2 separate regions of the Homo sapiens genome follow, and region 1 is linked to region 2. The links are contacts of gene promoters, found by promoter capture Hi-C in human tissues and cell types (Jung and others, 2019). All regions are on one chromosome and are shown on one strand. The core of a region is centred on a gene start or on the middle of the fragment in contact, and the rest is flanking DNA. Distances in the headings are between cores, read along the strand shown.

What was found. Contacts are between HindIII fragments. The study calls those that stand out against the background at their distance.
Region 1: a fragment that was not itself captured here is called in contact with the fragment with the promoter of TFAP2B in region 2 in 1 of the 25 tissues and cell types used here (mesenchymal stem cells).

The regions. Positions count from the first base shown.
Region 1 is chr6:50,969,369-50,975,564 of GRCh38, reverse strand. No RefSeq gene overlaps it. Among named protein-coding and RNA genes, the nearest start is that of TFAP2B, 150 kb to the right of the region's middle. The HindIII fragment of the contact is 3,610 bases long and covers 1,431-5,040 here.
Region 2 is chr6:50,817,211-50,823,785 of GRCh38, reverse strand. It overlaps TFAP2B (transcription factor AP-2 beta), which reads right to left and starts at 4,915. Exons shown (of 7, transcript NM_003221.4): 1 at 4,814-4,915; 2 at 1-379. The coding sequence starts at 4,894. LOC124901490 (a long non-coding RNA gene) reads left to right here and starts at 4,760. Exons shown (of 2, transcript XR_007059923.1): 1 at 4,760-4,884; 2 at 6,142-6,541. RefSeq lists an enhancer at 1-114. The HindIII fragment of the contact is 7,987 bases long and covers 1-6,575 here.

The DNA of each region.
Region 1 (6,196 bases), core at 1,986-4,485, 150 kb before region 2:
GCATCAAAATGCTATGGTCTTAACCAAATGACCTTTAGAATTAGACAAGACAGGTAGCTTTTCTATTTGCTCATCCACTCATTCAATAAGCATTCGCTAAATACTGAGTCTGTGCCAAATACTGTACCAAGAGGTAAGATATAGAGATAAATGCCTCAAGGAGCTAATGGGATTCTATTTAGACATTCTCAAAATCTCAAGAAATACCACAATCAGACTTGCAGTATTTCAAACGAAAGAGACTTCCCCATAATCACTGGCATGCCACCAAGACTAAAAGTCAAGTCTTTTATTCAATGATGTCAATATCTAATTTGGGTTTTTTTTCCCTACATCTTTTAAGTGCTTTATATGGATTAAACCATTCTGTTCTCATAACAACACAATGCAGCAGGCATTACTTTTATTCCCACTTATGCATATGACCTAGAAACATACTGTTAAATCCTGTGTTTACTTTTTACATTTGTAAGATCTGGCATTTCTTCTCCATGACCTAGTTACTTGTCCTGAGTATAAGTAAGTTTGCTGTCTGTTTGCTTAAATTTCAGACATTTTACAAGCAAAATTTGGTGAAAAGTCATTTTAATTTCTTCTCCACTTACCATTCTCTGCCTTGAGGTGCTTTATTACCAGGAGTACAAAAGCTAGTTCAGGGAAACAGTAACAGTATTATAAGAATTGCTATTGTTTATTGCAGGTATTACTATATTATGCTAGATACTTCACAGATTTTTTTTCTTTTATCACTCCCTTCTTATTCAGATAAACAAGGAATTGAAGCTCAGAGAGATGTGCAATTTCCTGTACTTATACAGCTAATAAGTGCCAGGGCTCAAATATAAACCCAGACTTCCAGCTCAGTGCTCTTCATATGTTCCACACGACATATTCTGAAGGGACTGTAAAGGCAAAATTATGTATAAAATATAATTGAAGCAGACGTCTCCAAATTTTTGGTGAGCCCAAAGATTTCCAGTCAGAGGATAAGGCCTGGTCCCAGGCTGGGGATTGGCATAATGAGTGGTGGGGGCGGGGAGGTCTAGAAGGGAAGTGAGCTTTCTGGGAGGTGCCACACTACTTGTAACAGTCAGAGAATTCCCAAACAGGGGCAGGGCACATGTACTATCTGGTAGTCTGCCTGATAAGGCTTCAAGTTCTACTGGTAGATACTGATGCAGTCAATCTAAAGATGATAATTTTTAAATGCCTTTGGTTTTAGGGTTGGTTTATTTCATGTGGTCATTTTCACCTAATTAAATGATATTCAGTTCAAAATTACATAGAAACAACTAAAAAGACCTTAGGGGAAACAGGTTCTTCTGGATGAAAAATCAAATTTAGACACCAATAAATTCAATTCAATGAAAAATGGAAACCACAAACCAGACTGCCTGGTTGCATTGCATGTATGCTAATGTGCCATGCATTTCTGATGCATTAGTACAAAATGTTCTGTATATTTCATATGTGAAACCATGTCTTAGAAATAAAGAAATAGAATGAAATAATAAATGGCAAATGGTCACTGTTAATCTTTGACTTATTTTTAAAGCATGGTACTACTTGGTAGATCAAGTAATACCCATAATGTTAGAAAAACAAAGTTATTGTTTTATGGATGTCCTTTGTTTAGAGAAGTCCAGCTATTTCAATATATGTCTCTTTGGCCATAATACTCTATAAAAGAGAAGACGGAAAGAAATACAAAGAGAGAACAAGAAGGGATCTGAAGAGAGAGACTGGGAAAGGGAACAGTACATGGGAATATTTTTGCTTCCAGCTATGGACAAGTGCCACACTTTCTCCTAATAACCTTGACCTGCTTTTCCTGGCTCAGCAGTAGCAGCTGTGCCACATCGGCTTAGCATCTGCTTATCAATCTAACTGTGCAAACCTGACTCCCGCTTCCAGTGTCCTTAGCACTGAGGATATCACAGTGACCAGGTTGACTGAGCAGCCTGCAGAATGTAGGAAACAATCAGTTCTTAGGAGGAGGAGGGCAGGACAAGGTGTGGAGAAATTACCAGAACATGGTCTCTTTATTGTCCAATGATCATAAGGAGAAAGAATATTTGTTGGGCAGCACATGGGACAGGTTGTCCTAAAGTTGCAGAATTAATGGGTTGTTGAATCTTAAAAAGAAAAATGCCATTCCATCACACACCTCAGTAAATATGTAACGGTGTGTGAAAGCTCTGGGAGCATTGCTGCACTGATGCTTCGCCATGATATTCATATCTTCTCAGCCAAAAACGGAGACACCAGGAGCAGTATGAGAATACAAAGCAGAGCGATGGTGGTTAAGAGTTTGGCCTTCTTGTCAGGCTTCCATGTTTAAAATTCTGACTTCACCACTGACCAGCTTTGGGCAAAATACTTAAGCTCAATAGGACCCTTATGTTCTTGTGAGGATTAAAATAGGTAAAGAATAGAGAAGTATAGAGCCTGACACAAATGATACAATGGACTTTGGGAACTTAGGGGAAAAGGTGGGAGTGGAGTGAGGAATAAGAATACACATTAGATACAGTGTACACTGCTCGGGTGATGGTGATGGGTGCACCAAAATCTCAGAAATCACCACGAGTGAACTTATCCATGTAACCCAAAACCACCTGCTCCCCAAAAACCTATTAAAATAAAAAAAATTATATAGAGACTGGTTTCTGGTATGCAACCAATAAATATGTAGTATGAGAAATATGAGTGTATTTATAGAAACAAAATAATATTAAAAGCTAAGATAAGTCAGACTGTAGAAACGAGGCCTGTCCTCAAAACAAGTGTGTTTGTATAGTGCAGATAGATAGCATGAATTTGACCACAATAAGGCTCAGTGTGTGATGGCTCCTTGTCAGAGGATTTCTTCTGATCTGGGCCCATCTCAATAGCCCAGCCTGAAGTATCCTCCAGTAGTCATCGAGTCAACAAATGTTTAGTGAGTCCATCTGAATCTGTTCTTATAACTTAGGAGCAGTTCTAGACACTGGGGACACAGCAGTGAAGAAGAGTGTTAAAGTCCCTCCCTCACAGAGCTAATATTCTAGAAGGAGAAATAGAAAAAGATAAATATATTAAGAGATATATAAAGTCAGGGTGTGGTAACTGCTGTGAAGAGAAAGCAGGAAAGGAGATAGTGAGGGATAGGGCTATGGTTTGTAGTTAGTGTGGTTGATTGTCCTTGAGGAGGTGATACTTGCAGATATCTGAAAGAAGTGAAGATGGGAGTAGGGCAATTATCCTGGGATATTTCCAGGCAAAAGATCAGCAATAGGAAAGACTGAAGCCAAGTGTGTTTGGCAACCCAAGGGAAAGCAGGTCAGTGTGCCTGGAGCAGACTGAGTGAGGGAGAGAAATCAGGAGATATAATTAGAGAATTGGCCAGTGGCCCATCATGTAGGTCATCAGATGCCATAGTAAGGAGTTTGGAATACCTAAAAATATGCTGAGAAGACATTAGAAAATTTTGAGCAAAGGAATGTCATGATCTGAGTTATGTTTTACAAGGACCCTGACAGCTGCATGGAAAATAGATTATAGCAAGTAAAACCAGTTAGTAATCTTCCCAGATCAGATGATATATGAGTAGCTTTAATAGGATGGCAATGGTGAGATGTGGTCAGATTTGGGATATATTTTGAAAGTGGGGCACACATGATCAGCTGATGGTTTGAATAATGGTATGAAAGAAAAATAAGAATCAATATTGACTCCAAGTTGTTTTTTAACAAAAGCCAGCTGTGTGAATAATATTGTCACATTGAGAAAGCTCAGGAAGTAGTTGGTTTGAGGGTGGAGGGGAATCAAGTTTGGACAAGCTAGGTTTGAGATGCCTATTAAATATCCTGACGGATGTCAAATAAGTAAGATAAATGAAACTGGAGTTCAGGGGAGAGGTCATATCAAAAGATATATTTAGGAGTCAATAGTATATAGTTGGCATTTTAAATGGAGCTGAATGAGATTAACAAGAAAGTGAGTACAGCTGGGGAAAACATCCTAGCATTTAGAGTTGAATGAAGTAGAATCCAACAAAGACTGCAAAGATTTCTTACTTAGGACAAAAAGTGAAGAAAAAAGAGGCTGAAGCTAGGCAACCAGAGGCCCAAGCCATAATCACAGCTGTATCACAGGCTAGTATCAAGGTCTCTTCATTTCCACTTCATAACCTATAAAATGAGGATTATCACCTGTGCCTGTCACACTTTTACCATTGTTGAAAGGCAAAAAAGCTTTCATCTGTGACAAGTCACCAGAGAAATGTTGCAGCACCACTAGCAGGCAAGGAGAAAAAAGTTGTGAACCCAAGAAATATCATACCCTACTGGGAAAATGAAAGACTAGGAGTGATATTGTGCTAATTCCAAAATATGTGCAGTCCATATCTCCATCCCCCAGCTCCCAACTTCTCCTTCCCATCTGCTAAATAATGTCAACTCTAAGCTACAAAATGAATGCCCACAGAAGAGCATTAAAGGAACAAGTCAGAGCAGTGCCAAAGAAGAGAGAAAAGAAAGAAAATACTGGGAAGATTTAAAGAGCAAGGGAAATAGTAGATACTTTCCTTCCTTCCTTCCTTCCTTCCTTCCTTCCTTCCTTCCTTCTCTCCTTCCCTCCTTCCTTCCTTCCTTCCTCCCACGTTCCAATTTTTCTTTCAAGGTGGGGATGTTGCCCAGGCTGCACTTCAACTCCTGAGCTCAGGTGATCCTCCCGCCTCAACCTCCTGAGTAGCTAGGACTACAGGTGCACACCTCTGCAGCTGGCTTTTTAGATATTATTGTGTCCTTCCAGGTTAGGAATTGAAGAAGAAAGAGGAGGAAAAACAAGTAATCTTGGATACTTGCCATTTCCATGAAGGGAGGGAAGCAGCAGGACCCTTTGAGAGAAGATCAATGCTCAGCATCCTGGTAGATAGCAGAGGAATCCCTAATTAGTAATTCAACTGACATTGATTCAAAAGGTTGATTTGCAGGCATCCAAGCCTGGAAAGGAGGAAGTTTGATGTGTTTTCCAAATTGGCAGTGAAAGAATAATTTATGTTGGAGATTTGTTGCTGAGCAGAGAAAAGAGATGAGATAGTTGAAAAAATAAATGATGATACCACCCAGAGTTCTAGCTTTCCTTCACTTTTTATAGGAATAAAATAATGAGTAGAAGAGAAGGTATAAACTAGATTAAATATATTCCATATATAAACCATGCCAGAAAAGCAACCATCATTTCTCTTCCCCTTGAACTTTTCATTTAAGCACAGACACACTTTCAGGGACTAATGAGAAGATATAAATGTTGATGAAGAAATCACTTAATAAAATGCCATGAACACAGTTAAATAGTATTTAAAGATTTGGGAGAAGAGGGGTAACTTAAAAACAAATAGAAAGTACATGATAACATAACCAGTACAATTATTGTTAGCATTTGACTTAATTGCTTCTTTAAAAAGAAAAAAAAAAAGGTTTACATATCATCCTCAAGTCCATTGTGTCCTAATGCCCACTGCTAATCCTCTAGCAATAATAGGTATTATTCAGTATTTGTTTTAAATTATTACAAATGTTGTCACACTGTATCTACCATTCTACAACTTGCCTTTTTTATGAAACATTATTTTTTGAGATGCATAAATCTTGATATACAGAGATTTCTTTCACACATTTAATTTTTTCTGACAGTCATGCATTCTTACACTATTTCATGTGATCCTTCCAACTCTAAGTGAGTTAATGAGTTATAACATCTCCACTTTACAGATGAGAGTATTCAAGTTTGCCCAGGGGGTAGATGTAGAACCTTCTGGCTTCCTGGCCAATTCTTCTTCACTGTACCAACTGTTTTCAAGCTTATATTTTCATCTGTAAAATTTTTTTTCAAATATGAAACTTATATAGAATGCTAACATGTAGGAGGCATTCACATTAGAGCTAGAGGCAGAGGTTCTGGGCTGTGCCCTCAGCCTTTCCTACATCCTGCAGTGGCCCTTGAAGCAGCTTCATGAACCTCTAGTTCTCTGTGGCACCTGTTATGGAAGCTGGTGTACTAAAGCAGTGGCCTTTTTGCAAGCACTATGCAGCCAGACGAAAGTTTTAAATACAGAGAACAAAATGCCCATAGCGATTTGGTCAATGAGAGAACTGAACACACTTTTTGTGATGCCATCTATGCAATGCAGTGTAATGGCAAAAGGCGGCTA
Region 2 (6,575 bases), core at 3,666-6,165:
CCGAATGCAGCAGCACGTCCGGCCGGCGGACCGAGTGGTAGTCCCTCCGGGGGTCAAGGCCCGAGAGCTGGGGCAAGGCGGCCCGAGGCTGGGGCAGGAGAGAGCCGGCTTCCGAACCCACTTCTTGCCGCTGCCGTTGCCCCCAGGGATGTTGCTGGGGCTGGTGCAGTGGGTTCAGGGAGTAGGGGTCGTTGACGTGGGAGTAGGGGTCCTGGCTCTGGTGGTAGGGGAGCGGCTGGTAGGGGGGTGGGAAGTAGGGCGGCTGGAAGTCCGACGACGGGGTGTGGGACAGCGGCGGGGCGCTCGAGTAGGGTCCTTGGGACACCGAGCCCAGCTGGGAGAGCCGCGAGCTGTGGCTCGGGACACCATCGTGCCGGTCCTGGGAGCGGAGAGAGGAAGGGGAAGAGAGCCAGAGAAGGAGACAGAGAAAGAGAGATAGAGGCAGAGAGAGACAGAGAGTACAGAGAGGAAGAAAAAAAATACAAGTGACAAATGGAGAAGCCCGGCTTTTGTACGCTCTTCCCGGGACAAGGGAAGCAAGGATCTGAAACTTAGACCCCCAAGTTGACTCAGAGGGCCACATGATTTCAGCAATTTCAAACCCCAGGCTTGGGGAGAAAATGGGAAAGGAATCACCCACTTAACTATAACATTTTAGCCGCTTTTTGGGGAGTGCAAAGCAGGCAAAAGGCAGGGGTACAGGAACAGTGTGTATGGAGGGAGATTCTAAATGCCTTAATTAAAATTGTAGGAGTCTTACATATGGTGTTTGCTCCTCTGGGTGTTTTTAACTACTTTTTTCTAACTCTTCCAGAGGTACAAATCACAACAAATAAAACTTCATAGTATTTGCTGTGCTGCTCCCCCTGATTAAAAACCAACTTCTGCCTTCGCTGGAAATGCAGCTGGCTGATTAGGAGGAGCTTTCCACACAACCTGATCATTCCAAGAGCTCCAAGGAATCCACCTGGTCTGAGTTCCCAGTCACTCCTCCCTCTCCAGGAGAAATTAAATAACTTAAATAGTGTTTCATTGAAATGGATCTCATTCGAAATCATATCCTAAGCCAATGATGAATTAAGTTGAGTTGTGGTTCATAGGAGTTATTTCTAAGACTGTTTTTCTATATCTAATGCTGTTATACTCAGGATGTGAAAATGAAGGAACTAAAGTTGGGGTGGGGGGAAATAAAAGCCCAGACAACTTATTCCTGGTCCTATCTGGAGTGTGAACTAAGTGAAAGAAGAAGGGGGAGGTGTGTATATGAGGGAGGTGGACTTTGTTTCTCCCTCTCTTCTCTGGAAACATCATGGTAAACTCCCCATGGTTCTTTTTGCAGAAATAGTCACCTAAATTTCCAAACAGCAATGGCAAATAAAAAGTTTTTCTTTTCGGCCTCTCCCCTCCCAGCTGACTCATGGAGCTCAGACGGAGAACACACAATGCAGAGAGAAGCAGCTGCAGCCTCGTCCAATTATGGTGCTAAATTACCAAGCCAAAGGCGCTCAAAGGAAGACAGAGAGAGACAGAGAGTGTGAGACACACACACACACAGAGACGCAGAGACAGAGAGACAGTGAGAGGAGGGAGCATGCAATTCTGGTAACACGTGAATCCAAACTCACCATGGATGAATAGGTGTGGACTAACATCTGGAAAAAAAAGCCTGGTTACTGCTCAAAATCAAACAATGATTAAAAAAAAAATCAAGGAGTCCAGCAGAGAAGCGAGCTGGACACAGGAGCTGAGCTTGATGTGTTTCCAGGACAAGCCATCAAAAAAAAAAAAAAAAAATTACACCCGCCCCCCACCCCAACAAGATTGGCGATGCCTGTCACACACAGACAGAACTATTCATCTGTCTCTTTGCTGTCTTTTTGGCCTCTTTTCTTCTGCCGTTCTTCGGGGCTCCAGATGCAGTCCTCTTTCACCCGAAGCTGGGCTCAGACTGCTCGGCCGCCCCTTCCTCCCTCCGCTTGCCTACACCGCCTCATAATAATTGATATTCATGACTATTAATATTACACGAGTACTTTAAAGGGAGAATAGAGGACAAATGGAGCGTGAAGCAGCAGCGAGCGCAGAGCTCCCCTACTATTGTAAATGACGTTCATTCAGTGGAGAATTACTAGATGTAATCAGACGAGGGGGCTGGCAAAGGCAGACTGGGGAAAAAGTTTAGCAGGAAAGAGGCAGAACTTCAATTAACTGTGCCGGGGACACGAGTAAAGCAGCCCCTGCTCCTTTGGATAAGGCAGTGAGGGAGAACAGTGCTGGGAGGTTGTATAGAATGGAGGTGTCCTCCTACCTGGAGAGAGACTTCCCTAATCCGGAGGACTTGGTCGCCTTGGGTGCTTTGTGTGAGGATTACAAAAACAAAATAAAAAGGGTTGCTTCATCATTTGGAGGCGAGAGAAAGGCAAATTGGTGGGCCTGGTTATTTACAGTGACTTTTGCAGACTTTTGCTAAATGTGGAAGATTATGCTCATTTGTTAAAGGACAGAAGCGAGATGGAGGCTTTTCATTCCTGTGCAGCCTTTTCCTGTTTAGTGCTCACATAGTTTGCGATTTTTACCTCAATTTAAAACATACGCCATCAATCTTCAAATACACTAAACTTATCCTTTCCAGGCAAAGCCAGGGGCAACAGAAAACCTTTTTGGATGTTTCAGGAACCCGTTCAACTGGCCTGACTGCCATTTCTGTTAAAGTTCAACCTTAGTCCAGACTTAAATAGGCTCCTTCCACCGAGCTGCGGATTCTGTTTTTTGAGCAGAAAATTTAGGCAGATAGGACCACCTGTAATATTCCCTCTCTCTCCCTGTTTATTTCTCTTTCTCTCTCTCCCTCCCCTCTTTTCTCTTCTCTCTTCCCTCCCTTCCACTCCACCCCTCCCTCTTCCTCTCTCCCTCCCTCCTTTCTTCTCTCCCTCCTTCCTTTTCCATTTAGCTACTTTACTTTCTGTAAAGAACGAATGTTACCCTGGTTACTTTTTAGAACCCACTGAAATGCCTCTGCATGCATATAGCTTGAGCTGTTTTCACCATGGCCCCGTGCTTGCTAATGTCATGCCCACTTTGGGCGCTAATATTCTTTAGGACAGTTCTAGCGCCTTGGACTTTACCATTATCCCGCCTGTTAAGGAAAGAAAAGGAGGCCGAACCGAAACAATCCCCACCAGGCGCGTAGGCGCGGCTCTTCGTTACAGTCGATACACAACCACAAAGAGAAAAGGAAAACCCCAAGCATCATTCAGCAACAAGACCAATCTCTCTCCTCTCTGCTCTCTCGCGCTCTCTCCTGCTTTTCTCCCTCTCCTCTCTTATCTCCTCCTCCTCTCTCCTACATACCTCCACACATACACACACCCCAACATTAGGATTCGGGGGGGGGCAGGAGGTGTGGGCGCCAGGCGCTGCCTGTGGGCGCTCGTCCGAGCCCGAGTCCCCCAGGAGCTTGCCGGCCGCGCCTGTGAGTCGCCCACTCTTAGGATCTTCGAGGCGGCTCTGCGCCGGGCTTTCAGGAGCTGTCCCGATCCGGAGGGGTCGCGTGTCTTTCTCGGCTCTTTGGGGAGCCTCTGCATCCCTCCACCTTTCGTCTGACCTAGCGGCCCGCGCCCGCCACCCGGGAGTCTGCTTCTCTTCCTTCCTTTTCTCTCCAACTTTTCCTCTTAGCAATCTCCATGGCCCGCTTCGCCCGCCTCGACTTCCCTCCTTTTCTAAATCCGCTTCGCCTTTCCGAAGTTTTTATTTCCAACCTCGACGTCTCAGCAGAACCTTCCCTTCCTCCCTTCCCCTGGCAACCACCTGGGGCTGTCCCAGACCATTCCGCTTAAAAGCGAGGCTCCGCGGGCTTCCCGGTCCCCAGCCTGGCCCGCCGCGCGCCCCGCGCCTCGCCCGCCTCGGCCGCCTCTCCCACCTCGCCCGCCTCTCCCACCTCGCCCGCCTCGGCCGCCTCGTCCGCCTAGTCCGCCTCGCCCGCGAGTAGCGGAGCCGTCTGGCCGCGTCAGCCCTCGCCCGAGCCGGAAAAGGGCTTTGGCGAGCGCGGTCCGGGCCCCGGAGGCGGCTGGCGTCCTCCTGGCTGGGCGCAACTTCTCCTGCCCCGAAGAGTTGAGCTAGCCTCAGTGCTAGAGACCCGTACGCATTGAACGTGGGCAGAAATTTCCGTGAAAGATGCCCACACAGGAGGCGGCTGCGATTTCTGTTCGGACGCAGTGACCCTCAAGGAAGCAAAACACAAGAAAACAGAAACTAATAAACTGCTACGACTTCTATTTTGCTCTATCCATCCATATCTCCAGCCATCTACTTCTTTCCCGCTAATTCTCTGTCCTCTACTTGGAACCATTTGTTATCAATTTCAGAAATTTTATTGAAAATAAAAATTAAAAGCCCGAGTCTGTTACAAATGAGGCTTGAAAACCCAATTCTCTTCCACACTTAAAACGAGAAAAGCCCCTGACTTTATCAGAATCTCGATTTTCTCTGAGAGCGTGCCCACATTCAGTAGCACCACATTCCCCATCAGAGCTTAAAAGGGTGGGGTGGGGTGGGGGGAGGCGAGGAAAAGGGAAAGAAAAATAAAATAAATAAAAACATTCCTAAATTAAAGTTGTCAGATTTCAGCCTTAAAGTCCCTTTTCAGAGCAGCGAAGTCTTCCCTAGCCAGCTTTTCTAAAAGTTAAAAAAAGCTGAGAAAACCGACCGGAAATCTACGAGTAAATAGCTTAAAAATATATATCATTTGGGGTATCAAGAAGCTCAAATTCTCTATCTGCAAAGCTCTAAGGTGCATCTGGGGGTGTCGACTCACCTCATAGATATCTTCGTACTTGACATTCTCCACAAGCTTCCAGAGCATGATGGCAGCCTGGTCTCTAGGAGGTGAGTGCATTCATGTGAGGAGCAGATGTCTGGCTTCTCAGGACTCCGCTGTCTGTAATGATCCATCTATAATTGGAAATGGGGGATACACACCAAATCCGACGCTCCTCTCCCATCGCAACTTATATCTGTTGTCTCAAACAATAGGCTGGACAAGTAAGCCTCAGCAAAGAGAAAAAACATTATTGCACACACAGGAGTTAGATGCAACCCACAGACATATATACTATAAAAATCATAAACCCGTATTTACACCCAGACACCCACATATAGTTATATAAGCACCTCTGGGTCACACAGTCTGCAGACTCCAAATGTGCATTTAACAAAGAGTTGTTCAGGGTGATTAATATAATATATACATTTTATAACTTCTATATCGAAAATGACACATCATTGTAGCCACTAACTGAAGTCTTTGCAATTCATAATGAGAAACCAGGGGCCATCAGTCCCCTATTTTCTATGTAGATTTTAAAGGGGGACACTTACCAAGATTTTTAAACACAAAAGCTCCCTCCTATTCATGTATGTTCCGGAAGAGAGTATTTTGAAAGGCTGGATATGGGGGATTTTAAGGACTATCTCTGTGTTGATGGCTACACAACTTTTTTTTTTTTAACTTTATCTCTGTCACCATAGAACAAAAAAGCTAGCCACCGTTGATGACCATTTCTAATATTTTCTGGTCATTTTACCTAAAACCTTTGGAAACTTAAATACACCTCAGTTTGTGCTGCTTGTTATTTTAGGTGTTGTTTGTATGCATTTTCAACGGATTCCATGCACCATTCCTCTTGGCTGGAGTCTCCATTTTATCAAGTTTTTTTCAGATGTTGGAAGCAACGTACGCACACGTTCAGACAAGGTTAATTTTGAGCCTTTTTTGCAGAGGCCAAGGACATTTTATATTTGCATCTGTTGTGTATGACTTGTAAGTGGTTTTAATCATGGAGAGTCAAGAAAGGGCCACCCGAATCTTTGAAAAGGTTTAAGCAGAATGTCTTCAAAGAGATAGTGAAAAATATTTTAGTGCATGTGGAGTTTCTTCTTTTTTTTGTATAATTTTTCTTAATAAGATGATTCATATAGTTTTTAAAAAGGAAAACATCATCAGCAACAAGAACAATATTAACCAGACTTAGAAAATGGGCACCATTTAAGGCGCAGGGATTCTGAATTTTATCATGAAATGAATACTCATCTGTTCCCCTGTTCCCCCTTTCCCATCCCCTCTGTTTTTCTACTCCCTTTCAGGGTGCGGAGAGCTTCTCATAGCCGGAACAGACGCCCAGAAGAGGATCTCTGCGCCTGGGACAGAAAAGAAATGCCAGGAGGGACCGAGGAGGGATGGGGCAATTTGGGGTGGAAGTTATTAAGCCTGGTGAGAGTGAATCTGCAAAGGGTGATTGTCTTTAAATCCAGGACTGCTGTGTGCAGCTCTGCGCGAACAGGGATGGACGCTGTTTGAGTACAGGGCTCCGGACAACCTTGTTGGACGTCGATTCAATCAAAACCAAGGAGAAGCTTCATGAACTGCAGAATAAACAATTCTGCAGATTTTTAATTTAATTTTTAAAGATAAGTCAAAGGAAAAGAACACAAAGAAGGTGCTTCAGAAGGAACTTCAGAAATAAACCCCTTATTTCCGGTTGAATTTTTTATGTTTCGTCTTTCCTTTTCTCCTCTTC